Linked DNA regions of Homo sapiens: regions 2, 3, 4, 5, 6 and 7 are each linked to region 1. Evidence: promoter capture Hi-C in 16 types of primary human blood cells and fetal thymus (Javierre and others, 2016). All regions are on one chromosome and are shown on one strand. Each heading gives the region's core, a stretch centred on a gene start or on the middle of the fragment in contact. The rest is flanking DNA. Distances are from core to core; before and after follow the strand shown.

The links. Contacts are between HindIII fragments. The CHiCAGO score rates a contact against its expected background, and 5 or more counts as called.
Region 2: a contact is called between the fragment with the promoter of WDR75 here and the fragment with the promoter of INPP1 in region 1, in 6 of 17 cell types (monocytes, non-activated CD4 T cells, total B cells and 3 more). The highest score is 13.6, in monocytes.
Region 3: a fragment that was not itself captured here is called in contact with the fragment with the promoter of INPP1 in region 1 in 1 of 17 cell types (neutrophils); the score reaches 6.1 in neutrophils.
Region 4: a contact is called between a fragment that was not itself captured here and the fragment with the promoter of INPP1 in region 1, in 1 of 17 cell types (neutrophils). The highest score is 8.9, in neutrophils.
Region 5: a contact is called between the fragment with the promoter of STAT1 here and the fragment with the promoter of INPP1 in region 1, in 2 of 17 cell types (activated CD4 T cells and non-activated CD4 T cells). The highest score is 6.0, in activated CD4 T cells.
Region 6: a contact is called between a fragment that was not itself captured here and the fragment with the promoter of INPP1 in region 1, in 1 of 17 cell types (neutrophils). The highest score is 10.0, in neutrophils.
Region 7: a fragment that was not itself captured here is called in contact with the fragment with the promoter of INPP1 in region 1 in 1 of 17 cell types (monocytes); the score reaches 5.2 in monocytes.

Annotation. Positions count from the first base shown.
Region 1 is chr2:190,341,567-190,345,606 of GRCh38, reverse strand. INPP1 (inositol polyphosphate-1-phosphatase) reads right to left here and starts at 2,018. Exons shown (of 7, transcript NM_001128928.2): 1 at 1,646-2,018. It overlaps LOC124906109 (serine/arginine repetitive matrix protein 1), which reads left to right and starts at 558. Exons shown (of 1, transcript XM_047446773.1): 1 at 558-4,040. The coding sequence starts at 1,291. The coding sequence ends at 2,169. RefSeq lists silencers at 1,323-1,652, 1,723-2,032. The HindIII fragment of the contact is 2,404 bases long and covers 358-2,761 here.
Region 2 is chr2:189,439,219-189,443,258 of GRCh38, reverse strand. WDR75 (WD repeat domain 75) reads right to left here and starts at 1,785. Exons shown (of 21, transcript NM_032168.3): 1 at 1,681-1,785. The coding sequence starts at 1,766. It also overlaps a transcript of COL5A2 not described here. RefSeq lists enhancers at 1,340-1,389, 1,410-1,639, 1,660-1,789, 2,050-2,269, 2,290-2,449 and 1 more. The HindIII fragment of the contact is 5,353 bases long and covers 1-4,040 here.
Region 3 is chr2:189,587,886-189,591,925 of GRCh38, reverse strand. No RefSeq gene overlaps it. Among named protein-coding and RNA genes, the nearest start is that of SLC40A1, 9.1 kb to the right of the region's middle. The HindIII fragment of the contact is 6,560 bases long and covers 1-4,040 here.
Region 4 is chr2:189,651,360-189,655,399 of GRCh38, reverse strand. No RefSeq gene overlaps it. Among named protein-coding and RNA genes, the nearest start is that of ASDURF, 8.1 kb to the left of the region's middle. The HindIII fragment of the contact is 5,241 bases long and covers 1-4,040 here.
Region 5 is chr2:191,011,855-191,015,894 of GRCh38, reverse strand. STAT1 (signal transducer and activator of transcription 1) reads left to right here and starts at 1,724. Exons shown (of 25, transcript NM_007315.4): 1 at 1,724-1,877; 2 at 2,217-2,370. RefSeq lists enhancers at 304-353, 1,132-1,211, 1,242-1,441, 2,052-2,371, 3,483-3,542 and 1 more and silencers at 1,492-1,731, 1,762-1,961. The HindIII fragment of the contact is 15,587 bases long and covers 1-2,982 here.
Region 6 is chr2:189,695,280-189,699,319 of GRCh38, reverse strand. It overlaps ANKAR (ankyrin and armadillo repeat containing), which reads right to left. Exons shown (of 23, transcript NM_001378068.1): 7 at 2,951-3,170. Among named protein-coding and RNA genes, the nearest start is that of ANKAR, 23 kb to the right of the region's middle. The HindIII fragment of the contact is 3,751 bases long and covers 440-4,040 here.
Region 7 is chr2:189,748,182-189,752,221 of GRCh38, reverse strand. It overlaps OSGEPL1 (O-sialoglycoprotein endopeptidase like 1), which reads left to right. Exons shown (of 9, transcript NM_022353.3): 8 at 1,566-1,672. The coding sequence ends at 1,644. It also overlaps a transcript of ANKAR not described here. Among named protein-coding and RNA genes, the nearest start is that of OSGEPL1-AS1, 13 kb to the left of the region's middle. The HindIII fragment of the contact is 788 bases long and covers 1,922-2,709 here.

The DNA.
Region 1 (4,040 bases), core at 769-3,268:
GGGAAAAAGTGCTTATATACACCATCCTCACCTTTAAAAAATGAAGATGACGTTTGTTTTCATTGATCACTTTATATAACATAATTATCTTTTAAGCAATTTCTGTATAACATGAAATAGAATGAGACATTTTCTAACTGTTATTAGAGACAGAATTAAAAAGCAAAATAAATATATAATAACCTTTATAACTTTTGTCTCACAGGCCTTCTATGTCAAACAAGAAATTATCTTTTCATTTTTTTCAGGACTATAACAAGGAAAGCTATAATTTAAATCTATAATAAGGTATATCATTTTAAAGGGCATTAGTCAAAGCTGCAATTTCCAAGCAAGCGGTGGTTTAGTCCAAAAGCTTGAAAAGTGGTAGCTTATTCTACACAAAAAGTACAGTGTAACTCTATGTATTTGACATAATTCTCTTCATGACTAAGCTGACTTCAAAAGTAGTATAAAAATCCATAAAAACTTAAAAATAAAGTAGGCTCTACATAAGAATGGAAACAAATATCTGTATTGAAAAAATGAATTCTTCCATTGCCTTTATTTTTTCCCTTATGTTCTCTATTTTAAAAGGTAAGAATGAGATCACTTAGCTAATTCACCAATCAAGAGTAGTTCAGTGGATTACTTTCATCCTTATACTATTATCAAGTTGAGCAGGGCTGATCCTTATCAACTTTTCTGGCTTCAAAGCTAGGAATCAGTGTAAAAGGGCTAAAAAATCTTTTACTCAACAGATGGGATCCACTTAAGTGGTCTGTCCATACTTTTAACCCACTGTTCTTTTGAAGTGAACACCATCATACAGTGGGCAAACTTCTGCTTATTCAACACTTTAAAAATACCTTTAAAATGAGAAATCTCCAAAAAACAAGCCGTGGTTTCTTATAAGTGTTTTTCACAGATGTACTAAAGTAAGCGTTTCCTTTCACACTCTTTGCGCCTAACCGTCTACATGATAGGGCCAAACCCAGGTTAAATATTTTTTTCCAGCTACCACTCTGGACACACCAACTAATTATGCACACCTCACAAAACCACCTTTCAAAATGCAGAGAGAATTAACAGCAAGGAAGTAAAGATTTTTCTAAATATAGTCCCATCATATTTATTTCACACTCATCAAGTAGGTCACTGGAGGTAGCTGGCAGCTAGGGACACTCAGATGCATCTCTCAAAGCCAAGGCTGAGACCAAGGGGTCACTGACAGCTGCGCCATCTACCTGTTGCAGCTGGGCCACTGCTCTGGACAACTGTCAGATCAGCTTCTTCGTCCTACAAATACTAATGACTGGATTTTTAAAATCGTTGTTTGCCACCCTTTCTTCCCGCCCCCCAACCCCATCGGGCCGCTCGGGCAGGGCCAAGGGCGCCGCGGGACTCACGAGCTCCCCTCCGCGCTGGCTGCAGCGGCGATGCCGGGCATGCCTGGCCGGGCCCGGCCGGGGGCGGCCTCGCTGCCGGGGCAGGGACCTCGCAGGCCGGCGCGCAGAGGCGAGGAACCCTCCCGGCGCCATCGACTCACCTACCCGCGGAGAGGCGACGGCGCGCGCCGCTCACCAGCCCGGGCCCCAGATCCAAGGAGGAGGGGCAGCGGCGCGGGGACCCTGTGGTGGGTGTCGTAAGGAGGAAAACGTGTTACCTAAGCCGGGGATGAGGACAGAGCAGGAGGCAGCAGCCTTTCCCTCGAGAAACGGAAGCGGCGGGGAGCAGGAGGAGGAGGAGGCGCGGCCCGGGCGCGAGGTTAGGCGAGGGGCGCTGGGCGTGCGGCCGCAGGCGCGGCCAGAGGACGAGGGTTGGGGAGGACGGCGGAGGTCACGCGAGCGAAGGCGAAGCCCCGGCGACGCACGGCCCCGCTTGGCTCGGCACCGGATCCGAGCTTGGCCTCAGCCAGGCCGCCGCCCCCGGCTTTCCCGCGGGACCGCGGCGTGGAAACGCGCGCTGCCGCCTCGGGGCTCCCGGGACGCGCGGGCCCCCCACGCCTGCCCGAGCCGGGCGTCCGCGACGTCACAAGTGGAGCGCGATGATTCAGAGGGAGGGCCAGGAAGGGAAGGGCTCTGGGGTCAGCTTGGCCACGGCTGCTGTTTCCTTGTCGCCGCCCACGAATTCACTTTTAAATCTTCCTCCTCCATTCATCTGTACTCTCATAGGGGACTGCGGGTTTGACAGATGGGTTGGCAGCTGTGAAGATGGACTTCCTGCCAGTGGTATCCGGGTCCCACTGTTCTAATGGAAATGTCAGGTGTACTGGATGTTCCTCAAGACACAGCAGTGTCTCTGGGCCTTGCCTCTTAAGGAGTGGGCCTCGGGCCACCTGGACAGGAAGCGCATCAAGGGTGGGGAACTTATCTCTCTCCAGCCTTTGGTGCTGTGATACTCAGTGTACCTTAAGGATGGTTTGGGTTGAACCTAGGTAGGAATGGGTGTTGGTGGGCGGGGTGGGGGTGGGGGGAATAGAAACCTTAAAAGGGCAACACAAAGTTTTGAATAGAAGAGGCCAAGCAGCCTCGCCCAGAAGCTGATGTTTGTGAATGTACTGGGCCTTCTAAAGCGGCGCTTCACACACCTTTTCACTTCTTGGCACAGGTAGGAAAGGATGATATTACAAGGGTCAAAATGGGGGTAAACAGAAGAGGCTGCTCCTGCAGAAGGCTTCCTGCAGAAGCCCTTGCACTTGGAGGGCTGGGAAGACCCATGCTGTATCTGCATCCCTGTCATTCGTTTCACGGCATCCAGTTGGGAAGCTCTGCTTAAAGCTTTGTCTGGCACGTTTTCTTAGCTACATTTTTCCACTCCAGCTGAGACTGCCTCACTGAGTTGTCAACACTTGGTCTTCTTCAGCAGTGAGGAACCAACAAGACAGGAGGCTGGGTCAATACTCAACTTGGCAAACTCCAGGAAATGGTGCTTAAAACGTTTGGCTTCTTGAATGGAATTCATGGTACTGCTCCCAGCCTGCACCTGGGTTCTCCAACTTGAGACAATTTCTCCCCGCATCCCCCCACCCTTCCCTGGCTTTCACTCACTAGCAAGTGGGCTGCTTCTACTTTCTTTCTCACATTCATTTCTTAGGTCCATTCTCAGAGCGGTTAGGATTACTGTTTAATTAGCCTCATAATCATATCTATGATGGCAAAATCAAGAAACAATTTAAACATGATTCTTAAAAGTAAGGAGATAAATACCAGAGACATAGAAGGTGAAAGAATTTGCCTCTAGGAAGCAGGAATTTAAATTTGGGGAAGACAGGGTGGAGCAAGGGATATAAATCTAGTCCATTTTTCTTTTCTTTTCTTTTCTTTTTTTTTTATTTTTAAGATAGAGTCTCACTCTGTCGCCCAGGCTGGAGTGCAGTGGCATGATCTTGGCTCACTGCAACCTCTGCCTCCTTCGTTCAAGCGATTCTCCCACCTCAGCCTCCCTAGTAACTGGGATTACAAGTGACTGCCACTATGCCCAGCTAATTTTGTATTTTTAGTAGAGACGAGGTTTCACCATGTTGGCCAGGCTGGTCTCGAACTCCTGACCTCAGGGGATCCGCCCAGCTCAGCCTCCCAAAGTGCTAGGATTCCAGGCGTGAGCCACTGCACCTGGCGGAATCTAGTCCATTTTCCACTTTGCTACCACACATCTGCAGGGTTTCTTGCTTGCTTAAAAGCTTTCATTGGCTCCCAATCTCTGATAATATCAAGAGCAAGTTCCTGAACAACTCATTCAAGACCCATCACCCCTCGCATCTGTCAACTCTGCCCCTTGAATATTACACCTCATTTTACTACACCACATCTAGTTCCCTGAATATGCAAACAGATTTCATACATTTGCACCTTTATACATGTTATTGCTTTTGCCTGGGAGAGTATTCTCTTGCTGCTATAATAATAGCTAATGACACTGTGCTAAGTACTTTCTGTGATTTATAACTGTTAATTCTTACATCAACCCTATGGTAAATGTTACTGTTATCTCCATTTTATAAACAAGAAAACTAAGACTTAAAGAGTTTAAGTGATTTGCAGAAATATGTAGTATTTGGT
Region 2 (4,040 bases), core at 536-3,035, 900 kb after region 1:
AGCACAAATGTCATTTGCTCAGCAATCTTCTCCGTCCTTCTTAGTTTGGGAAGTAATCTCTTCTTATGAGCTCCTTCCTACAGGACCACAGTAAGAAAAATCTGTTACTGAGTATTCCTTTTCCTCACTAGACTGTAAGCTCCTCGAAGGCAGGATCAATATTAAAATTATCTTAGTTTTTGTCACTGCAGCATGTTATACATAATATATAGTTGACAAGTACTTAAAAAATGAATTGTTGGGCTTAGCAAATCAAACACACAATGGACCTCATTATAATGAATAAGGTATAAGAACAGTACTGGTTACATGGATATGAGTCCGAAGCGTCACAGTGTGACAGCCTCTTAAAGCCTGTTTCTTCCTTTGATTCATAAGATCAATGTCAACAAAGCCACAGGACTCATTTTTTTTTGGCTTCTAAGGCAATTTATAAAAGCTCTTTCAGTCATGCTTGCATTACCTTCAACAACTACCTGTCGTACACTCATATGCAGAATATTGTGGGGGTGGGCCGGGCACAGTTGCTCACTGTAATCGCTGCACTTTGGGAGGTTCAGGTGGGCAGATCACTTGAGGCCAGGAGTTCCAGGGCAGCCTGGCCAACATGGCGAAACCCTCTCTCTACTAAAAATACAAAAATTAGCGGGCGTGGTGGCCCGCGCTTATAATACTTGCTACTCAGGAGGCCGAGGCACCAGAATTGCTTGAACCAGGGAGGCGGAGGTTGCAATGAGCCTAGATTGAGCCACTGCACTCCAGCCTGGGTGACAGAGTGAGATTCTGCATCAAAAAAAAAAAAAAAAAAAAAAAAAAGAATATTGTGGAGGCTACAAACTTTCATAAAATACTATCTCTACTCTTCTAAGGCAGAAAGGGTTTTTTGATTTTATTAAGTGCCACCCTACCTAAAGTTATTTGAAAACCTGACAATACAGTAATAATGATTACAGCTACATACATTGAGCCATTATGTGCCGGGCATTGTTGTCTGTAGTTTTAACATATTGAGGCATTTAATCCTCCCAATAACCACGTGAGATGAACTAAATATTGTCCCCCTTTACAGATGATGGCAACTGAGGCAAAGATTAAGAAACTTACAAAGGTTTCATAATGTAAGAAGTGGATTTTGAAGCCAGGGAGTGGTTTGGTTTCCAGCTACACTGAGAAAAGAGACCAAGTCTTAGCGTATTTTTATCTCATAAAGAATCTAACATCTGTTTTCATGTAAAGTTCCGAAAAGACTGCACTATGCTTCATGCACTATGCTTCAGGAGTGAGGAGTGGGTAGAAAAAGCGGAATAGTTTTAGGTTTTAGTCACTCCAAAACATGATTCTGTACGAAAGAGTAGGTACTGCAAAGGTAGTGGCATACACATCCACCCCTGGACCATTTTCCAGCCGCCCGAACACCTTCCAGATCCTCGACACGGAGACCGGCTCCAGGGCCTTTATCTACCTGCAGGTAAACTGTCCAGGAATCGGGGGACGCAACCCAATCTGCAGTGGTAACGGGACCTCCCAGGTACCCTGGGGATCCCCCACAGGCGCGTGCTCTACCCAAAGCCGATATCCGCCAGGCGGGCGAGTCCGAACGCGACTGACAATTCCTTCTCCCCGACCCTCGAGAAACTCACGCCCCGCCCCTCAGCCGACAAAGCGCGGTGCCCCTCATACTTAGAATCTGCAGAGAACACAGCTCTCCTAAAGTTCAACTCGCTGCCGCCACAACGAACCACGCGGATGTTCTCCTCCTCCACCATCTTTGCGCAGTAGCGGAATGGCCAATCTCTGGTCCCGCCCTGAACTTCCTTCGTTGAGCCGGGTAATAAGGCTGTTCCCAGCCCACAGAACCCACCCCCGGGCCCTTCTAGGCCTGAGACTCGGTGGTAGGACTCCGCTTCCGTGCAGGCACCTTTTGTGTGGGCAATGTCAAACTAAGACACTTGTAAGAAAAGGTGAAAGCAAAACAGAGATTTAGAGACAATCAGTTTTTATTATATACCTATACACAATTATTTAATACAGACATATTTCTCTCAGGCCTTGTCAACCTGACTCTATGGCTTTTTCCGCCAGAAGGGAAAGGTGGCGTATAGTGTACCACGTGACCTCCAGTCGTCCCACCGGAGGCGTCGCTTTCTAGTGTCTGTGGTGTCGGCGCTGCAGGATGACGCGAGCCTCTCGCGTCCCTGGTTTTCTCGGTCGCAGCGTTGAGTTATTGGGTGGAAAGGTAGCTTTCTCTTCCTTGTACAGCTTTTTGTTCCTCTCATTAGCCGTTCTTCTGTTCTTGTGAACATCGCTTAGGTTACTACAGAATCTCCACAGTCCTAGGGCCTAGCTTTCTTCCTTTGGAAATCTGGCTCCTACTCCGGGATTCTGGTGCATCTTCCGCAGCGTTCAGTGTAGCTGCTCGGGCTAATCTGACATTCGGCCAGTCCCGCCAGGTTTCAGGGCGCTGGTCTCTGGTTTCCTGAGTTTTACCTTTTCCCATTAGTGAATAGAATCTGTGGGTTAGGAACCCCTAAAATCTCAACATGTTTATTTTTGCCAGTTTATCTCCAGTTTTCCTTTGTAAACTTACACGTATCATATTCTTGGACCCTGTATATTATGTTGCCTATTTTGATTTCGCTTCTTGATTTGTGGATTTACCACAAAATTACCAAGGTCTCAAATATAGTCACATGTCACATAAGGATCTTTCAATCAATGCATATAACATGGTGATTCCGTAAGATTATAATACTGTGTTTTTACTGTACCTTTTATGTGTTTAAATACACAAATACTATTCTGTTACAATTGCCTGCAATATTGAGTACAGTAACATGTTGTTCAGATTTGTAGCCTAGGAGCAATCAGCTATAACGTACAGCCTAGGTGTGTAGTAGGCTGTACCATCTAGGTTTGTGTAGGTACACTCTGTGATATTCACACAATGATGAAATCACCTAAAATGCATTTCTTAGAACATATCCCCATCATTAAGCCACACATGATTATACCTATAAGTTTATTTATGGTGGAGAAATACAATATTCACAAAGGTCAAGACATATCCTGGGACAGCACCACTGTAAAAATCAGGGATAAATTTACTTTTTACTGAGGAGTCTAGCTTATTAAAGTGCTCAAAACTTTATTATTTGGGGAGCCAGAACTAGAAAGGGAGATATTTAATAATTTTGGTTTATCTCAAGCTGTAACCAGCTTTCTCTTTCATGACTGTGATACCCTTTGTCACAGTGGATGGAGTGTAAAATATCACTTTTGATTCTGCAGCCTTAACCTCTTTTTGTTTAGTCTCTTGATGTATGCACAATAAATCTTTTAAAGACTTTGTTGGGTACTTTGTAACCTGATACAGGCTTTTCCTTAGGGCCTGAGCCAAGAAACAAAATAAATATTTTCACTCAAATTAGTGTGACTTTAGTTGTATGTTACTGTATGGTAACTTTAGATTTTTCAGAAAAGAATCAGAAATCCTGATATGGACAAAAACTAGCTGGATTGATAAATGTATAGGAGGATTATTTTACACAGAGTTTTAATTTACTGAAGTGCCCAGAAAGATAAGTCATTTGTATTTTGATTTCTTTTTACATAATTTTTAAGGAACCAATCCCACCTACAGCTGTTTAATTAATAGTGCGTTGTCTTTATCATGTAACAAGAAGGCTGAGGTAGGCAGAATAGGGCTAGTGCAGTGGATCATTCATGCCACCAGGGACCTGTGCTTTCTCTACTTTGTTCTTTGTGTTATTGTCCTTAACCATATTGGTTTTGTCCTTATGCTCACAGTTCATGTTCCTTTCAGTTAGAAGAAATAAGGGAATAGCAAGAAAGAGCATAGCCTATATACAGAAGGAAAAGGATTTTCCAGAAACACTTATTTGGCATCTTCCATCCAGGAAATATTTACTAAGTGCCTAGTATATGCCAGACATTCTTTCAGGCTCTGGGAATACTGGAGTGAGAAAAATAGTTAACAAAATCTGTATGTTACTGGACCTTACCTTATCATGGGAAGAAAC
Region 3 (4,040 bases), core at 757-3,256, 750 kb after region 1:
TAAAATACCAATGACATTCTTCACAGAACTAGAAAAAGCAATCTCAAAATTCATATGGAACCACACAAGACTCCAGAAAGCCAAAGCAACCCTGAGCAAAAACAACAAAGCTAGAGATATCATACTACCTGACTTCAAAATATATTAAAAATCTGTAGTCACCCAAAAGGCATAGTACTGGCATAAAAACAGACACATGGACAGATGCAACAGAATAGAGACCCCAGAAACAAGTCCACACACCTACAGTGAACTCATTTTCGACAAAGGTTTCAAGAACATACACTGGGAAAAGACGTTTTCTTCAATAAATGGTTCTGGGAAAGCCGGATATCCATATGCAGAAAAATGAAACTAGATCCCTATCTCTTACCATATACAAAATCAAATCAAAATGGATTAAATGCTTAAGTGTAAGTCCTGAAACTATGAAACTACTAAAAGAAAACACTGGGGAAATGTTTCAGGATATTGGTCTGAGTAAAGATTTTTTTGGGGTAATACCTTAAAATCACAGGCAACAAAAGCAAAAATAGACAAATGGGATTACATCAAGCTAAAGAACTTCTGCTCAGCAAAGAAAACAACATACAGGATGGGACAAAATAGCTGTAAACTATTCATCCAACAAGGGATTAATAACTAGAATATACAAATAACTCAAAACAACTCAACAGCAAATAAGTAAATAAATAAATCCAATTTAAAAATAATCAGATGATCTGAACAGACATTTTTCTTCTTCTTCTTCTTTTTTTTTTAGATGGAGTTTCACTGTTGTTGCCCAGGCTGGAGTGCAATGGCGTGATCTCGGCTCACTGCAACCTCCGCCTCCCGGGTTCAGGCAATTCCCCTGCCTCAGCCTCTTGAGTAGCTGGGATTACAGGCACATGCCACCACACCTGGCTAATTTTGTAATTTTAGTAGAGATGGGTTTTGCCATTTTCGTCAGGCTGGCTTTGAACTCCTGACCTCAGGTGATCCACCCGCCTTGGCCTCCCAAAGTGCTGGGATTACAGGCGTGAGCCACCATGCCCGGCCATGAATAGACATTTTTCAAAAGAAGAGATACAAATGGCCAAAAGTACATGAAAAAATGCTCAACATTACTAATCATAAAGGAAATACAAATCAAAACCACAATGAGATATCATCTCATCCCAATTAGAATGGTTATTATCTTCCTGATCAAAAAGACAAACAATAACAAATGCTAGTGAGGATGTAGAGCAAAGGGAATCCTTATACACTGTTGGTGAGAATGTAAATTAGTACAGTCATTGATATGGTTTGACTCTGTGTTCCCACCCAAATCTCACGTGGAATTGTATCCCCAGTGTTGGAGGAGGGGCTGGCGGGAGATGATTCAATCATTGGGGTGGACTTCCCTTTGCTGTTCTTGTGATAATGAGTGAGTTCTCATGAGATCTGGTTGTTTAAAAGTGTGTAGCACTTCCCCCTTAGCTCTCTATCTCCTGCTCTACCATGTGACGATTGTGCCTGCTTCCTCTTCACCTTCCGCCATGATTTTAAGTTTCCTGAGGCCTCCTCAGACATACCTCCTGTACAGCTTGCAGAACTGAGAGTCAATTAAACCTCTTTTCTCCATAAATGACCCAGTCTCAGGTACGTCTTTATAGCAGTGGGAAAATTGACTAATACAGTCATGGAAAACCTTATGGAGGTTCTTCAAAAAACTGAAATTAGAACTGCCATATGATCAAGCAATCCCACTGCTAGGTAATCAGTACATTGATGAGATATCTGCATGTCCATGTTTATTGTAGCAATAGTCATAATAGCCAAGAAATGGAATCACACTAAGTGTCCATCAACAGATGAATAGATAAAGAAAATGTATATGTATATATAAAACCACATATTATTCAGCCATAAAGAAGAATGAAATCCTGTCATTTGAGCAATATGGATGGAACTGGAGGACATTATGTTAAGTGAAATAAGCCAGGCATAGAAAATTATTGCATGTTTTCACTGATGTGGGAGTTAAAAAATGTTGATCACATGGAGGTAGAGAGTAGAATGGTGATTACTAGCGGCTGGGAAGAGTAGTGGGGAGTAAGGATGAAGAGAAGTTGGTTAAAGGGAATGAAAATACAGTTTAATAGAAAAAAATAAGTTCTAGTGTTTCATAGCACAGTAGGGTGGCTATAGTTAATAGTAATTTATTGTATACTTCAAAAGAGCTAGAAGAGAAGATTTATAATTTTCCCAACCTAGAGAATTGATCAATATTTAGGTGATAGATATCCCAATTATCCTGATTTGATCATTACACAATGTGTGCATGTATCAAAATATCACATGTAGCCCAGAAATATGTACATTCATTATGTATCAATCAAAAAAGGTCTAGATTAAATACCTGAAGGTTCTTCTTCCCTCTTTTAATTTCTAAACCAATTGATTACAGTAGAGAAGTTTTCTTTCTCTTGAGAGTGTGACAGAGTTATATAGGGACAATGTGAACAATATTTACACTCAGGGCTAACCTGGACATACATATATAGCTAAATTAATTAGAGAAAGATTTTGACCAGTAATCTTTGTAAGTATTCCTCAGAAATGCTTACCCACGCTTTTGTGTGTTGAACCATCAGTTTATATCTGTGGTGGAACTTTTAGGTTTAGTTGTGTAGCCAAACTGCCTTTGTTTGAATGTGTTTGGCAGAGAACTGGAAGTGTTAGTTATTTTGATCTTCTATATGAAGGCAATAGCTAGTTAATTTGACCAAAAGGCACAGTTAGGGCACTTCTGGGACATTTTTACAGTGGTGATTTTATATACTGCTATGGTTTGCAAAGCAATTTGAGACAAATGGCACTGATGAGAAGTCTCTGAAATATGTGAACACAAGAAGTCAGAAGAGTTGTCATATACTTGTGCTTTGAAAAATGTGAACAGCTTGAAAAGAGAAAAAGAACCAGATTTTCCCTAGGGCCAGATAGCACAATCAAGTAAAGGAAGATACCAATTTAATGCAGTTTGTGAGACTTTGGTGAGGAATTATTTCCTAAATATCCAATCATCAGCTCATTATCACCTCACAATAGGCAGATTAATACATTTAATTTGCTAGGATTACAGTCTTGTTTGAGTTGGTCAACTGCTTGTAAAGTGAGACATTTTTTAAAAAGTAGTACATGGCTCACACCTATAATCCCAGCACTTTGGGAGGCCGAGGTGGCGGATCACTTGAGGTCAGGAGTTTGAGACCAGCCTAGCCAACATAGTTAAACCCCATCTCTACTAAAAATACAAAAATTAGCTGAGCATGGTGGTGGGCACCTGTAATCCCAGCTACACAGGAGGCTGAGGCAGGAGAATCGGTTGAAACTGGGGGCGGAGGTTGCAATGAGCTGAGATTGTGCCACTACACTCCAGCCTGGGCGACAGAGTGAGACTCCATTTGAAAAAAAAAAAAGTAGTACAGAGGTACTTCTGTGACACAAATACAAACCTTTAACCATTTTACCATTGGTGTTCAACTTTACCTCAGATGGTCCACCTTATGAAAGACTGAACCACAACCATCATTCTATATCAGTACACATTAACCTTAAAGGCAGTAGGCTCCACATCATAAGGACAAACAAATTAGAAATCTCTAGAGTAATTGGTACTAAGAAGAAACTAAACTCATTTAATGATACACTACCTCCTTATAAACTGAAAATTATAGTCTAGGTGTTTTTTGTTTGCATTTTTAAATTAGTCAAAACATTAATGCTTTCTAATGTGATTTCCTAAGGTTGCTTTACTGTTTTTAATCAAAGGCTGGATCCATCTTAATGCTGAGGCAAATACAAAGTAGATTATACAAAAAACATATACCTCATGACCACAAGAAATTACATGTTGATCTTGCCACAGAATAATAAGAAGCCATGCCTGTGTATCAGAAAAAAAGGGCGGGGACAGACAAGGGGAAGCTCGCAGCCAGTGCTGGTGGAGACTCAGGTAAGCCTAAGAAAACAATCCGTGAAGAAGTTAAAACGAGCCTCAGCTGGACTTCCAC
Region 4 (4,040 bases), core at 495-2,994, 690 kb after region 1:
GTGTTACAAGTAGTGCTAAATACATGGTTACATATTTTTATTTGTCCCATGTGGTAATTCTGCTCTTTAGTTCCTTTTCATATTTTCAATACAATATTTGTTTTTAACTTTTTTATGGCTGTACTTTCTGGTGCTTAGCATCTAGAGTCCCATTATTCCTTCTTGATGAGTTTGATGCCTAAGCTAGAGACTCCTAAACTTTTCAGTTCACAGCATTCTTATTGTCCCCATAATTTTTCATGGTCTCTGAAGCCAAAAACAAAAACAAAAAACAAACAAAAAACCCAAATAAGTCATTTTAGTAAGTAGTTAAATCTAAACAACTTAGTATTTGTGTTCTAACAACTTAGTAGCCATTAAAAAAATACATAAATTGAAATAGAATATAATGTTTTTATTTTATTCTTAAATTAACACGATTGCTAATGGGATATGTATGCCTGTTAGGCACTATATAACTTCTCAAACCTTGGAATCAGATTGGACATCATAACTTTCATTTTCTGTTCCTCACTGATTTTCACAAGGTATTTGTACTTTATCCTAGCAACCACCAAAAGTATAACGTTGCAAAGATATGATATCATCAAAAGAAATACAACTTGACCGAATGTTGAAGTGGTTGTTTTTATTTCTGTGGGGTCAGTGGTAACATTCCCTTCATCATTTACAATTGTGTTTTATTTGGATCATCTCTTTTTTCTTCTCTATTAGTCTAGCTAGTGGCCTATCTATTTTATTATTTTTTCAATAAACCAGCTCCTGGATTTTGTTGATCTTTTAAGTGGTTTTTCATGTTTTGATTTCCTTTAGTTCAGCTCTGATTTTTGTTATTTCTCATCTTCTGCTAGCTTTGCAGTTGATTTGTTCTTGCTTCGTTTTGTTTTTTTTGTTTGTTTGTTTGTTTTTTTTTTGGTATTTATTGATCATTCTTGGGTGTTTCTTGGAGAGGGGGATTTGGCAGGGTCATAGGACAATAGTGGAGGGAAGGTCAGCAGATAATCATGTGAACAAGGGTCTCTGGTTTTCCTAGGCAGAGGACCCGGCGGCCTTCCGCAGTGTTTGTGTCCCTGGGTACTTGAGATTAGGGAGTGGTGGTGATGACTCTTAACGAGTATGCTGCCTTCAAGCATCTGTTTAACAAAGCACATCTTGCACCGCCCTTAATCCATTTAGCCCTGAGTGGACACAGCACATGTTTCAGAGAGCAAGGGGTTGGGGGTAAGGCCATAGATTAACAGCATCCCAAGGCAGAAGAATTTTTCTTAGTACAGAACAAAATGGAGTCTCCCATGTCTACTTCTTTCTACACAGACACAGCAACAATCTGATTTCTCTTTCCTTTCCCCACACTTCCCCCTCTTCCACTTGACAAAACCGCCATCGTCATCATGGCCCGTTCTCAATGAGCTGCTGGGTACACCTCCCAGACGGGGTGGCGGCCGGGCAGAGGGGCCCCCCCACCTCCCAGACAGGGCGGCCGGGCAGAGGCGCCCCCCACCTCCCGGACGGGGCGGCTGCCGGGCGGGGGCTGCCCCCCACCTCCCTCCCGGACGGGGCGGCTGACCGGGCGGGGGCTGCCCCCCACCTCCCTCCCGGACGGGGTGGCTGGCTGGGCGGGGGCTGCCCCCCACCTCTCTCCCGGACAGGGCGGCTGGCCGGGCGGGGGCTGTCCCCCACCTCTTGGACGGGGCGGCTGCCTGGCGGAGATGCTCCTCTCTTCCCAGACGGGGCAGCTGCCGGGTGGAGGGGCTCCTCACATCCCAGATGGGGCAGCGGGGCAGAGGCGCTCCCCACATCTCAGACGATGGGCAGCGGGGCAGAGGCGCTGGGGAGCGCCTCTCAGACGATGGGCCTCTCATCTCAGAGGATGGGCGGCCGGGCAGAGACGCTCCTCACTTCCTAGACAGGATGGCGGCTGGGAAGAGGCGCTCCTCACTTCCCAGACTGGGCGGCCGGGCAGAGGGGCTCCTCACATCCCAGACGATGGGCGGCCAAGGAGAGACGCTCCTCGCTTCCCAGACGGGGTGGCGGCTGGGCAGAGGCTGCAGTCTGGGCACTTTGGGAGGCCAAGGCAGGCGGCTGGGAGGTGGAGGTTGTAGCGAGGCGAGATCACGCCACTGCACTCCAGCCTGGGCAACATTGAGCTCTGAGTGAGTGAGACTCCGTCTGCAATCCTGGCACCTCGGGAGGCCGAGGCTAGCAGATCACTCGCGGTTAGGAGCTGGAGACCAGCCCGGCCAACAGGGTGAAACCCCGTCTCCACCAAAAAAATACCAAAACCAGTCAGGCCTGGTGGCGTGCGCCTGCAATCACAGGCACTCGGCAGGTTGAAGCAGGAGAATCAGGCAGGAGGTTGCAGTGAGCCGAGATGGCGGCACTACAGTCCAGCCTCCGCTGGGCATCAGAGGGAGACTGTGGAGAGAGAGGGAGAGGGAGAGGGAGACCGTGGGGAGAGGGAGAGGGGGACGGGGAGGGAGCTGTTCTTGCTGCTTTGATTCTTTCAGTTGTGATGTTAGGTTATTAGAGATCTTTCTAACTTTTTGATTTGGGCATTTAGTGTTATGAATTTCCCTGTTAACATTGCCTTATCTGTGTCCCAGAGAATCTGGTATGTTGTATCTTTGTTCTTGTCATTTCCAAAGAACTTCTTGATTTCTGCCTTAATTTCATTATTTACCCAAAAGTCATTCAGGAGCATGTTGTTTAATTTCCATGTAATTGCATGGTTTTGAGTGATTTTCATAATCTTGACTCCTATTTTTATTGTGCTATGGTCTAAGAGTGTGTTTGGTATAATTTCAGTTCTTTTACATTTGATGACATTTGTTTTTTGTCCAATTATGTGGTCAATTTTAGAGTATGTGCCACGTGAGGATGAGAAAAATGTATATTCTGTTGGTTTTGGGTGGAGAGTTCTGTAAAGGTCCATTAGATCCATTTGGTCCAATGCTGAGTTTAAGTCCTGAATATCTTTGTTAATTTTCTGCCTTGATGATCTGTCTAATATTGTCAGTAGGGTGTTAAAATTTCCCATTATTATTGTGTGGGAGTCTGTGTCTCTTGCTAGGTCTCCAAGAACTTGCTTCATGAATCTGGGTGCTCCTGTGTTGGGTGCATATATTTAGGATAGTTAGGTCTTTTTGTTTAATTGAAACGTTTATCATTCTGTAATGCCCTTCCTTGTCTTTTTTGAACTTTGTTGGTTTGAAATATGTCTTGTCTGAAGTTAGGATTGCAACTGCTGCTTTTTTCTGTTTTCCATTTGCTTGGTAGATTTTCCTCCATTCCTTTATTTTGAGGCTATGAGTGTCATTACATCTCAGATGGGGCTCTTGAAGATAGCATACCATTGGGTCTTGGTTTTTTATCCAGCTTGCCACTCTGTGCCTTCTAACTGTGGCATTTAGCCCACTTACATTCAAGGTGAGTATTGGTATGTGTGGATCCTGTCATTGTGCTGTTAGCTGGTTATTATGTGGGCTTATTTGTGTGGTTCCAGCATATACAATTTAACAATTAGCCGGTTTCAGAAGGCTCCAGCTGCCGCTGACCCTAAGGCTACATTTTTACTAGAATAATAATAGAATAGATAGAGTTAAAGGGTCAAAGGGCATGGGAAGTTTTTGGCTCGTATTTATCTTGTAAGATTGTTGCTACTTGTTAAATTTCGCTTTGTGATCAATATTGCTCTTGGTTTGATTTCTATTTATTTATTTGAAAAATAAGAATGGTATATATTTGTAGAGTACAATGTGATGTTTTGATATATGTATATATTGTGGAATGGCTAAATCACATTGATTAACATATCCATTATCTCACATTTATTTTTATGTGGTGAGGACACTTAAAATCTACTCTCTTTGCATACATGAAGTATACAGTACATTGTTATTAACTATAGTTTCATATTGTGCAATAGATCTCTTGAACTTATTTCTCCTGTCTAACTGAAATTTTGTATCCTCTGACCAACATCTCCCCAAATCCTCCCCATGTCCCTTATCCTCTGATAACTACCATGCTACTCTCAGCTT
Region 5 (4,040 bases), core at 475-2,974, 670 kb before region 1:
GTCTTGGTTCTTGGGTGAGTAAGAGCAGAAGGGACACTTTTGGTGCCGTGGCATCTCTTGGCAGAGAAGTCTAATTTCACTGCTAACTTGCTTTGTGAGGGTGCATTTGTGACAAGAAGAACAAATAGATGTGCAAAGAAAAAAAACTCATACACACACATATAGGCATATCCATGGGAAATTATTCAGATCCTTCTCCTACCCCAAAGTGCCTAATTATTCAAGGCTTGACTCAAATCCCGTCTACTTGAAGGAACTAATTGATTTTATGAGCATATAGTCCAAAAAGATTTAGTTTGTCTGGCTTCAGCAATGCCTACCTGGAGAAGTGACATTTAAGCTGAGATTTTTAAACTAAGATCTAAAAGATGAGTTAGCCAGCGAAGAGTTGGGTGAAGCAGATGTTGGCTCAAGGGGTTTTCCAAACTCAGGGTGAGAAGTCCCTGAGTTTGGAGAGTGTGGTTTATTTGAAGAACTAAATGCTGAAGTAAGCAAAGCAGAGTGGCACATTATGGGGTTGGACAAAGAGATCGGGCAACCAGGGCTTTATAGTATGTATTAAGAAACTGAATTTTATAAGAGCAAAGAAAAGCCATGGAAGGATTTTCAGGTTGGCAAATGACATGATCTGCTTTTCAATTAAAAAAAAAAACACTCAAACTCTTGTATGGAGAATGGATTAAAAGGTAGATAAGGGCTGAAGTGAGGCAGCCATTCGGGAATCTACTGCAGAAGGAGGCAGCAGAAGAGATGGAGCAGAGTAAATGAGACTTGGGAAATATTTAGGAGGAAGAATCAATTAAGATTTGAGGATCAGGTGTTGCGAGGTGAGGGAGAAGGCAATGTCAACTATGAATCCTAGGTATCTGTCATGTGCCATTTCTAGAAAAAGAGCAGGTTTGAGGAGAAAGATGTTTGGTTCTGAACATAGTTTGTAGAGCTCACTGCACATACAAGTGGAGAGGCAAGTGGGAGTTGTAGGTGTGAAGCCCAGAGGAGAGGTGTGGACGGGATAAGCATTTAAGACTCCTCCATCTAGAAGGAAACTGAAGCTGTGGGTGAGGTCATCACAGCACAGCGTTTAGGAGAAGCCCAGGTAAAGAAGCTGACGAATGTCTGGACCCTGACAACCTTAACATATAATGGTTTGATAGTGGAGGTGGAGGCAATGTAGAAAGAATGCCAGAGGCAGGAAAAAGCAAGAAGGATGTGTTATCATCATGACCAAGGAAGAAACGTGTTTCAAGAACAAAGGCGTCAACTCTGCCCCATGCTTCCGAGCTGTCAAGTAAAGTGAGAAAAACAGAAAAGCGTTCCCTGGGTTTAGCAACACGGAGGTCAGTTGCTAAAGGGAGCTTCTAGAATGACGACGTCGCCAAATCTGTCCTCTGCCTGGATTCTCGGCGATGAAACTACTACAGAGACCTCCAAGTTTGGGCTTCTGCAAACACAGCACGTCCTTCTGATCGTTCTCTAAGATATGTAAACAGAACGCCAGTTCCCAGCGTGGCAACACGGGACTGGGCTGCAGCTCACCCAGCCGGCGGCCCCCGCCGGAAGCCGGCGGAAATACCCCAGCGCGTGGGCGGAGCAGCGGCCCGCAGAGGGAGGCGGTGGCGCCCACGGAACAGCCGCGTCTAATTGGCTGAGCGCGGAGCCGCCCGGTGATTGGTGGGGGCGGAAGGGGGCCGGGCGCCAGCGCTGCCTTTTCTCCTGCCGGGTAGTTTCGCTTTCCTGCGCAGAGTCTGCGGAGGGGCTCGGCTGCACCGGGGGGATCGCGCCTGGCAGACCCCAGACCGAGCAGAGGCGACCCAGCGCGCTCGGGAGAGGCTGCACCGCCGCGCCCCCGCCTAGCCCTTCCGGATCCTGCGCGCAGAGTGAGTGGCCGTGAGGTTCCGGGTGCCGGGGGTGGGACGCGCAGGGACAGAGTCCTCGGGCCGTGCAGTTGGACGCCGGGCGAGGACGGGCCGTCTGTGCTGACCCGCGAATAGTGATCCCAGAGGAAGAACGCGTCCTGAGTATTCCAAGTGCGAGCAGTGCCACCTGTTCTCGGAGATGGCACTGCTCAGCACGATTGTCCTTGCCAGTCGTGCTCTGGCAGTGAAGAGGACTTGTGAAATATAATTTTCCTCTAGAAGGCACTGCACCTTCCCATTTACCGTCACTTTCTCCCGTTTCCACCCCTTTCCATCAGTCACGTTTTCTTCTTTTCGCAGAAAGTTTCATTTGCTGTATGCCATCCTCGAGAGCTGTCTAGGTTAACGTTCGCACTCTGTGTATATAACCTCGACAGTCTTGGCACCTAACGTGCTGTGCGTAGCTGCTCCTTTGGTTGAATCCCCAGGCCCTTGTTGGGGCACAAGGTGGCAGGTCAGTAAATGTTCATGGAATCAGATGAATGAGTACATGACTTCGGAATCTTAATTATGTTTCTATGTTCAAAGATGGAAGGGCTTAATGTCTTCCTAGAGTTTAAAAGTGATGTTTAGTTTTTGCAGACCCCCCACCCCAAAATAATATAGTCTTAAAAAAATTTCTGGCCGGTACTGAAGAGTTCTGTGGTAGGTATGCAGAGGTGTGGTTGATTGTGCTTTGAATGTTGTTTGTATAGATAAGGAGTTATTTTCATAGAACAGAAACAGGACTTGAGCCTCCAGCACAGTCCATTGTGCAACCATTGCTTAATGAGGATGCTGGACTCACACTTGTGAGATCATAATATGGTTTGCTTTTTACTTTCTAATTCCGTCTGAAATATACATAATTTCAATTCAACAAACTGTTTCGAGCACATAGTATATGCAGGGCACTGTCCAAGGTCCATAAGATGTTAAAAAGCAAAATACCCCACTACTCTACCCCCTCCCCACCCACCTTCCCCCGCCGGGGACTCTGGAGGCATCACAGAGCTTTACAAGGAAAACTGGAACCGATGCTCTAATAGAGGTACAGAATTCAGTGAGACGCAAGTCAAAGAAAGCTTAATTGTGAGTAAGTCTCAGACAACTTTATGAAAGAAGGGGCTTTTGTACATAGCTTTGAATGCTATAGGATTTAGAGACGCAAAAATTTGTGGAGAGGCTGTTTCCAAGGGCGAGTAGCTGGAGCAAAGCAGAAATGTTGGGCACAGTTGAAAAACAGTAAATGATTTGGTGACTGGGTTGCTTTGTTGATGGATGAAGATGGGGTGGGGTGGAAATCTGCCTAGGAATGGACAGATCATAGGATTTTTGCACAGGAGATTGATGTGGTCCAATCTGTGGGCAGCAGAGGCTGGACTGGGAAGGTAGAATGTTGGAGACAGGAAGGAGCAGGTCTTGGGATGGAGTGGAAGGAATCAACCCTAAATCTGAGATTTGAGCTCAGTGACTGGGAGATGGCCATGCCACTCCCTGAGTTGGTAACAGGTTTTGTGAGTAGATGAGACTGACTCCAGATTTGTGAACATGAGCTTATTTATTCATTGTTTTTTTTTTTTAGAGACAGAGTCTCTCTCTGTCTCCCAGGCTGGAGTACAGTGGCGCGATCTCAGCTCACTGCAACCTCCGCCTCCTGGGTTCAAGCAATTCCCCTGCCTCAGCCTCACGAGTAGTTGGGACTACAGGTGCACACCACCATGCCCTGCTAATTTTTTTTTGTATTTTAGTAGAGACAAGGTTTCACCATGTTGCCCAGGCTGGTCTTGAACTCCGGAGCTCAGGCAATCCGCCCACCTTGGCCTCCGAAAGTGCTGGGATTACAGGCGTGAGCCACCTGGCCAGCCCAAACATGAGCTTATTAATTCACCTCTTCTGTGCCAGGTGCTACATATGTACTAGCTCAACCAGCCTTAAGAACCAACTGTGGCAGGGTGCGGAAGCTCACGCCTGTAATCCCAGCACTTTGGGAGGCTGAGGTGGAAGGATTGCCTGAGGTCAGGTGTTTGAGACCAGCCTCAGAAACATAACGAGAGGCTGTCTCTACAGAAAATTTAAAAATTAGCCAGGCTTCTTGGCTCGTGTTTATTGTATTAGTCTGTTCTCATGCTGCTATAAAGAACT
Region 6 (4,040 bases), core at 1,066-3,565, 650 kb after region 1:
GGCTGAGGAGCATTAATCATGAGGGGTCCTTGTGGCAAACTAAGCACTTGTCCTCTATACTGTCCCTCTCCTTGCCTCTAATCTGAAAAACTTTGGTTTTCTGTGTAGAATACCTTAGAGCCTTAATTGAAGACATGTTCTGTTTGAAGAGTATTTAAGGTTTCCAATAAAATGTACACCCCTCAAGAAAAATTTCCTGAGCACCTATGAAGGCCAAGCGTTTTTCTGGGTGTTAGGAAACTGTGGCTAACAAAACAGACCAAATCCTTGTCCTTTATGGAGCTTTATATTCAAGTGAGGGAGACTAACTAACTAAATAAATTTATATAAGGTAGCCATAAGTGATACTTAGAAAAGAAAAAGAGAGAGCAATAATGTAGGAGGCACACTATTGTTACTCAACTGGAAATTTCTACAGGGCGGATGGGACAGGTAAGCTTCCTTTTTTCCCGCTCCAGTTCCACTCACCTCCTTTACCACCCTGGCTCTCCTGCACCTGCAGAAAAAGCAACCTGTGTCCTCTGGCTCCTTGTCAGTATCTGCCAATGGATAGCTCTGGCAGGAGATTGGAGGAGGAAGAATGAGGTCGGGCTCCCTCTCTGAGGTCATCTCAGGTTTGCTGTGCTCCTCCTCTAACGGAAGATGGCCAATTTGAGTAACTATCCCCTCCCCCTTGACAATTCAGTTCGTTGTACGTAATTTCTTTAAAACAAAAGCCTTTCTGAATTCTCTTATACAGAGTATGAAGGTATAGCCTCTTAAATATAGACAAAGAAAGTATAACCTCTTAACATTTTGTTTTTCTCCATATCCAACATTGAGGTTAAGTCTACTACCTCAGTCAAAAACGACTCATTCCTCAGACCTCACAGATTGTTACTGCCACTAGATGGCAGCCTATCTAATTTATATTATAATAACTTTTTTTTTTTTAAGTTGTAGAAACCACTTGTGGGCCTGAATTTATAAAAAATAAAGGTGACAGCAAATTCCACAGGAAAAAAAGAGAAAACTCCCCAAACTGAAGAGGAATACCAATAAATAACTATGAGTAGAAAGTAATTTATGCTTCAAAATGAATACAAAACATCATTATGCAACATTCTGATGCAACAGTATTTTAGAGATTATATACTATAAGAAAAGTTCTAATATATGCAATAGCCTTTTTAAATGCACCAAATACTTTATTTATGTCTTACCATTTCTTTCCTTTTTTACCTCTACTTTGGATGACTCTGTTTTAAAAGGGAATGCACATAGAAGTATGATCATTAATATACAGCAGTTTCCTAAGTTGTTCAAGAAGACTCATATGAATAAGAACAAAATGACTATGTAGATGTATCTGGCAAGATTACATCGAACAGTGTTGAGAATAACTTTTGGTCAAGTCATCCAGGCATGTCATATGCAACCTGACAACGCATTAAAAGCAGACCTGGAAACTCTGCCCCCCAAATGGCTGCTTAAAACTCACAGGTGGGACAATTTTGTGTTGGTTAAGCAATAATATTGGAAGTAGAGTACTATGTTTTCCACACTTCAAAATCTACCTAATTCTCAGCAAATGGAAACTCAAGCAGTCAGAGGGCGCATGAGAAACTTTTAATTTATCAAAGACTTTTTCCACACTAAAAAAGGCTTAAAGTAATACATCTTTAAATAGTGTTACCTATTGCATTTAAATGTGATTGAATTGTGTCTTATTTTAATTAGGTTCATTATGTATTATGTATTGAATATTTTCAGTAACAGAAGAATCTGAATATCAAAACATTTTAATCATACTGATAGAGTACAGAATTTATGGATATTCAATACGGTTAAAGCAAAACATTTTGTTTTGGCGTCTGTAAAAATTTAACATAGCTTATTAAGATAGCTGACTTCATTAAATATAAAATCACCACTTCTTATTGCCAATATTGTTGCATTGGCCATTCCTGACAATTTACATATATATGTACATATATATGTGTAACCTCAAACTCCTGGGCTCAAGCAATCTTCCTGCTTCAGCCTCTCAGAGTAGCTAGGACTACAGGCGTGTACCACCAAGCCTGGCTAAGTTTTTTTTTTTTTTAATTTTATGGGCAGGGGGTCTCGTTATGCTGCCCGGGCTCATCTTGAACTCCTAGTCTAAAGTGATCCTCCAGCCTCAGCCTCCCAAAGTGTTGGCAAGACAGTAGTGAGCCACTACACCTGCCCCTGACAATTTATCTATATTTTCCTTTCCAGTTATGGAGGGCCACCAATTTCATTTTCAACTCTGTTTTTATTCTAGCTAAATTTATTTCAATGATTATAAAATATCCATGCATATTTAATAATCACAAAAATAGCTTTTAAAGTTTAAATGAGGTTAACCTTAAAGGGGCTATTAATGCTAAACATTATTATGATAAAGAAATTTTTTGTTATTAAATGTAATTTAAATATATGTAATATAAAGAAACTATTCCCTGTTTGAGGATCCTGGAATAAAGAATGATTGTTCTACTGGGACCTGACAGTCATATCTATTGCTGTTCTCTGAATTTCTATAGTATATCAGTGTATATTAATTTTGCCAGTGCTTATCAAATGATATCCTGCCTTCACCCATCCATGCATTAACTCAACAAATATTTTCTGAGCAACCATTAAGCCACACTTTCATCTGGACATTAGTATACCACGGCAAATAAAGTAGGCTAAATCTTTGCCCTCTTATAGAGCTTATACTCAAATGAAGGAGACACAATGAGCAAATATAAAACCATATAAGCTAGCTATAAGTGATACTTAGAAAACTAAAAGAAGCCTTTCTTAGATAAATGAAACAAAAACCTCAACTTTGCTCTAGTTAATACCAAATTTTAACCTGCTCTAAAATCAACGTGCATTCCTAATGCTGAGTAAGGGTAAATAAAATAACAACATTTTAGGTTAAAAAACTTTATGGTACCTTGGCTGAACGTAACAAAGCGCCTCTGGTTGACCTTGAAGTTAGCATTGCACAGTTGACATATAATAGAAACTCTGTTGTGCAGGGCAGCATGATGAAAAATAGTATAACCTGCTTCATCTGAAACATTGATTGTTGAGCTTGAGGTTTTACGGCTAAATGTGTGGAAAACTGCAGACAACCCTCTTTCAACAGCGGACTTCATACCAAATGGAATACTCTAAAATTAAGAAGGCCAGAATCAGTTTATCAAAATGCACCTAAAGTTTGGTTTAAGGAAAAAAATACATGAAGTGTATTAACAGAATCACATGAATGCTGTTAAAATTAAGTAGAATTTTCACAAGATCCATGCATGGAAAGTTTCTTACTGGATAATGATTAAAGTAGTTAGAGCTATAAGCAAATATTAAGAATTTAAAAAATATTTTGGGGAATTTTTTATTATTAATTTTTTTCTAAAATATTTTAAAAGCAAATGGAGATCATTGGGTTCCTTCTCTGATTTAAGAAAAACCTAATTCAGAAGTCTAGAAATTTGAAATATATAGCTGTAGAAATACAGTTTGTCATCCAAAGGTAAAAATGTCACCCTCTTTAGACATTCTGACTAATATTTAAAAATTCAACTAACAAATTTTTGAGGTTTTAATTTGTGGACGTGAAAACAAATAAATGGAAAGTAAATACCAGTCTAACCTTTGAAGCTGGTGAGCTTCTTTGCTCAGTTCCAGAAGCTGTACTTCAAGGCTTGTTGAAACAGATGTGGAGATTTGATGATGCTAGGTCTGCTCTTTAGGTTTTAGTTCCCAGGACTGAAGCCTGGCTCTGCCATTTACTATATGATTTGTGAAAGATCCCTCTCTACACCTCAAATTTCTCATTTGTATAACAGGAATGATAATAATAGAACTAGTCGTACCTTAAAAGAGTTCATTGATTTATAATATTGCCTAACATACAAAATAAGCAATCAATACGTATAAGCCGTTATTGAGATTAATCACAATCCAGTGCATTAACAGGTACTCTGCCAGAAATTTATAATCCAGAATTGTATAGCCTTTCAGCTACTAAAATGTGGCATTTT
Region 7 (4,040 bases), core at 1,066-3,565, 590 kb after region 1:
TTTCCTGCAAGCCTTATTTCCTCTCCCAAATCAAAGTTCCAGTGAATAGCACAGTTTTTTCTTTACTTTTTTTCTTTTTTTTTTTAGAGTCTTAGTGTCACCCAGGCTAGAGTGCAGTGGCGCATTCTCGGCTCACTGCAACCTCTGCTTCCCATATTCAAGTGATTGTCATGCCTCAGCCTCCTGAGTAGCTGGAATTACAGGTTCACACAGCTGTGCCCAGCTCATTTTTTGTATTTTTAGTTTTTGGGTTTTGCCACATTGGCCAGGCTGGTCTCGAACTCCAGGCCTCAAGTGATCCACCCACCTCGGCCTCCCAAAATGCTGGGATGACAGGTGTGAGCCACCACACCTGGCTGGTTTTTCAAATTACTATCAAATTCTGTTTTAATTCTGGAATAGTAAAAGACAATTATTTTCATAAATAATTATATTTTGAACACTGTTTCATCTGATGTTTTAAAACTTGTCAGCATTGGCCAGGCATGGTGGCTCATGCCTGTAATCCCAGCACTTTGGGAGGCTGAGGTGGGCAGATCATCTGAGGTTAGGAGTTCGAGACCAGCCTGGCCAACATGGTGAAACCCCGTCTCTACTGAAAATACAAAAATTAGCCAGGCGTAGTGGCAGGCACCTGTAATCGCAGCTACTCGGGAGGCTGAGGCAGGAGAATTGCCTGAATCCTCGAGGTGGAGGTTACAGTAAGCCGAGATCACGCCACTGCACTCCAGCCCGGGTGACAGAGTGAGACTCCATCTCAAAAAAAAAAAAAAAAAACACAACTTGTCAGCATTATATTCCGTAACTTGACAGTTGTGCTATATATGAATTACATGTATGCTGATGATGAATGAACTGAATTGAGTTAGTAGTACCGGAAGGCATCCCTTTGATACCTTGTCTCAGATAGAGTATATCCTCTGATTCAGTTATGCCCCCTTGTGGCAGTGTTGAGGCTGGAGATAATGGCTTTTTCCAGGTTGGGATTCAGTCAAAGCAAAGCCTTATCTTGGACACCATGGTAGAAAAGCAGAAATCTGAAGCAAAAATTAGTTACTGAGGAGGAACAGAAAAAGACAGCAGGAACTAAGACCTCTTTGGCTAGTAATGGCAAAGGATGGTAGAAAAGGGGCAAGGCAGCTTTTGAAACTTCAGAGAAGAACCTATAGAAACCTAGGACATTTCTAAAATGTGAATGGATACAGGTTTGACTTTAGCTGTGTGGCAAAAATGTTTTTACCTTTTTAGCTTTGTAGAGAATTATAAGATATTTTTCATTATTTTTATATTTCATTTTATGTTTTTAACTTATTTACAGTATTTGAGAACAGCAAAACTGTTTCTTTCAAAAATATCTCAAAATTTAGATTTCTTATTAATGAGACTAGCTTTCATTATCCTGACTTGAGGTCCCAGTATATTTGTAAGTATTTAAGAATCATCACCACATATGATGAATTAAATATTTGATATTTATACCATCAGAATTCTAAGCAAATAGTCTGCAGAACTAGTGATGGATCATGAAGCAAATAAATAATACGATTTGTCTGCTTATGATGTAGATGTCCTCTTGGAGTAGACATATCAAAAGAAGTTGGAGAAGCTTCCATAAAAGTACCACAATTAAAAATGGAGATATGATTTCTGCTGTTCAAAAAAGTCCCTAAAGGTAGTATTAAGGTTAAAATTAAGTTTTTATTGTTTTGTGTATCAAATTGTAGAAGATATATAATATTAATTATTCATCAAGATTTTATTTTTTTTTTTCTATTTGATGTTTTACCTGCTCTTCTGAGATACTATAATGTGTTAAAAGTCTTACAAGGGAAGATAGTTTTTTTCTTTTAATTATTAAAAACCAAAATAAAACATCTTTTGAGAAAGGAATGTATTGATGCTGGCAGGTAGAAAGGAAGCTTTGAAAGAAGCACAGTAATTTTGCTGAATTCTGGCCCTGTATCATACAGGCCTAGGACTTTCCCCCACTTCCTCAAATCAGGATAGGAGAAGCTATTTTTTAACTCCTACTGAAACAAGAACCTGACTTTATAATGAGAGAGCAGTTTAATTTTTTTTTATCATTATTATTTTTTGGAGATAATCTCCCTCTGTCACCCAGGCTGGATTGCAGTGGCGTGATCTCAGCTTACTGCATGCAACCTCTACCTTCTGGGTTCAAGCGATTCTCCTGCTTCAGCCTCCTGAGTAGCTGGGACTACAGGAGCCCACCACCACGTCTGGCTAATTTTTTGTTTTTTTAGTAGAGATGGGGTTTCACCATGTTGCCCAGGGTGGTCTTGAACTCCTGAGCTCAGGCAATCTGCCTGCCTCAGCCTCCCAAAATGCTGGGATTACAGATGTGCTCAAGAGAGCAATTTTAGATCAGTCATGTCAAAGCAGACATTTCCAAATCAAGACAAAAGCTGACTTTCTCTAACATAATATGTTATTAATTTTAAGAGTTCGTTATTAGGTATCATCTCTGGAGTAAATAGGATGTCTATGCATTTTTTAAAATCTATATAATTTGAGGTTTTACAATTTTAACATATAAGTAATCCCTCAAGTATGTATTGTACGCTTTAGTTGTCCACATACTTTCACATCAGTTATTTGAGAAATTGTATATAATCAGATGGAAATAAATGAGGGAGTTTTTTTGGATTTTTTTTTAATCCAAACTTTGTACTGCAAATATTATAAGCTTATCACTGTTTTTCTGCCTTGATTAAAGTAACTAAATGTACAATTCTTTGAATGTAACCCTCTATATCTGGAGGCCTTTCTCATACATAATTTTTTATTTCGATTTTTATAGACAGCATCTTGCTATGTTGCCCAGGCTGGAGTAGAACTCCTAGGCTCATGTAATCCTCCAACTTCAGCCTCCAGGGCCTGACTTTTCACACATTGTTTAAAAAAAAAAAAACCGTGGAGTAATAAAAATAATCTTTTTTTTTTTTTTTTTTTTTTTAGACAGAGTCTCGCTCTGTTGTCCAGACTGGAGTGCAATGGCTCGATCTCGGCTCACTGCAACCTCCGTCTGCCAGGTTCAAGCAATTCTCCTGTCTCAGCCTCCCGAGTAGCTGGGACTACAGGCAAGCACCACCATGCCCAGCTCATTTTTTGTATTTTTAGTAGAGATGGGGTTTCACCATGCTGGCTAGGCTGGTCTCGAACTCCTGACCATGTGATCCACCCGCCTTGGCCTCCCAAAGTGCTGGGATTACAGGTGTGAGCCATCATGCCCAGCCAATAAAAATAATCTTTATAGGGGAGATTTATAGGAGAAGTAGTATAAATTTTAGGAGTGGTAGGATGGTCTGGCTAGGCCAAGATACTCAGGAAATATCTGGCATTGAATGCAAAGAAACTCTGATAACCTGAAAATAGTCCTAAAGTATAGTCTTGAGCCTACCTGAAACCAGTTTCAGAGCTCAAAAGTTGCTCTCTAAAGGCTTTTAAAAATATCTACAGAAACTTAATATTTCCATTGTTATAAATTCTTATCCTTAATGGTGCTGGATAACACAATTCATCACTTGAATATGTATCCCTTTCTAGTATAAAATAGACCATTTCCCTCCGCATTTCCTATATTTCAGTCAATCCACCAGAAAGTTGTGACTCAGCACCATTAAGATAATTTAGAAGTAAATATGAAGATTAAAGAGGTCTCTTATTTTTTAGTGGTTAAGAACACAAACTTTGCATGGTAGCTCATCCTAATGCTTTGGGAGGCCAAGGGAGGAGGATCACTTGAGGCCAGGAATTCGGGACCAGCCTGGGCAACATAGCAGAGACCTCAGCTTCCTGAGTAGCTAGGGCTACACGCCTGTACCACCACACTCAGCATAACAAAGACTGAGAACCTGTAGCCCTAGCCACTCAGGAGGCTGAGGTGGGATGATTGCTTTGAACCCAGGAGTTATAGGCTACAGTGAGCTATGATTGCACTATTGCCGTCCAACCTGGGTAACAGAGCAAGACCCTGTCTTAAACAGACAAATAAATAAATAATAATTCATTCACCCACT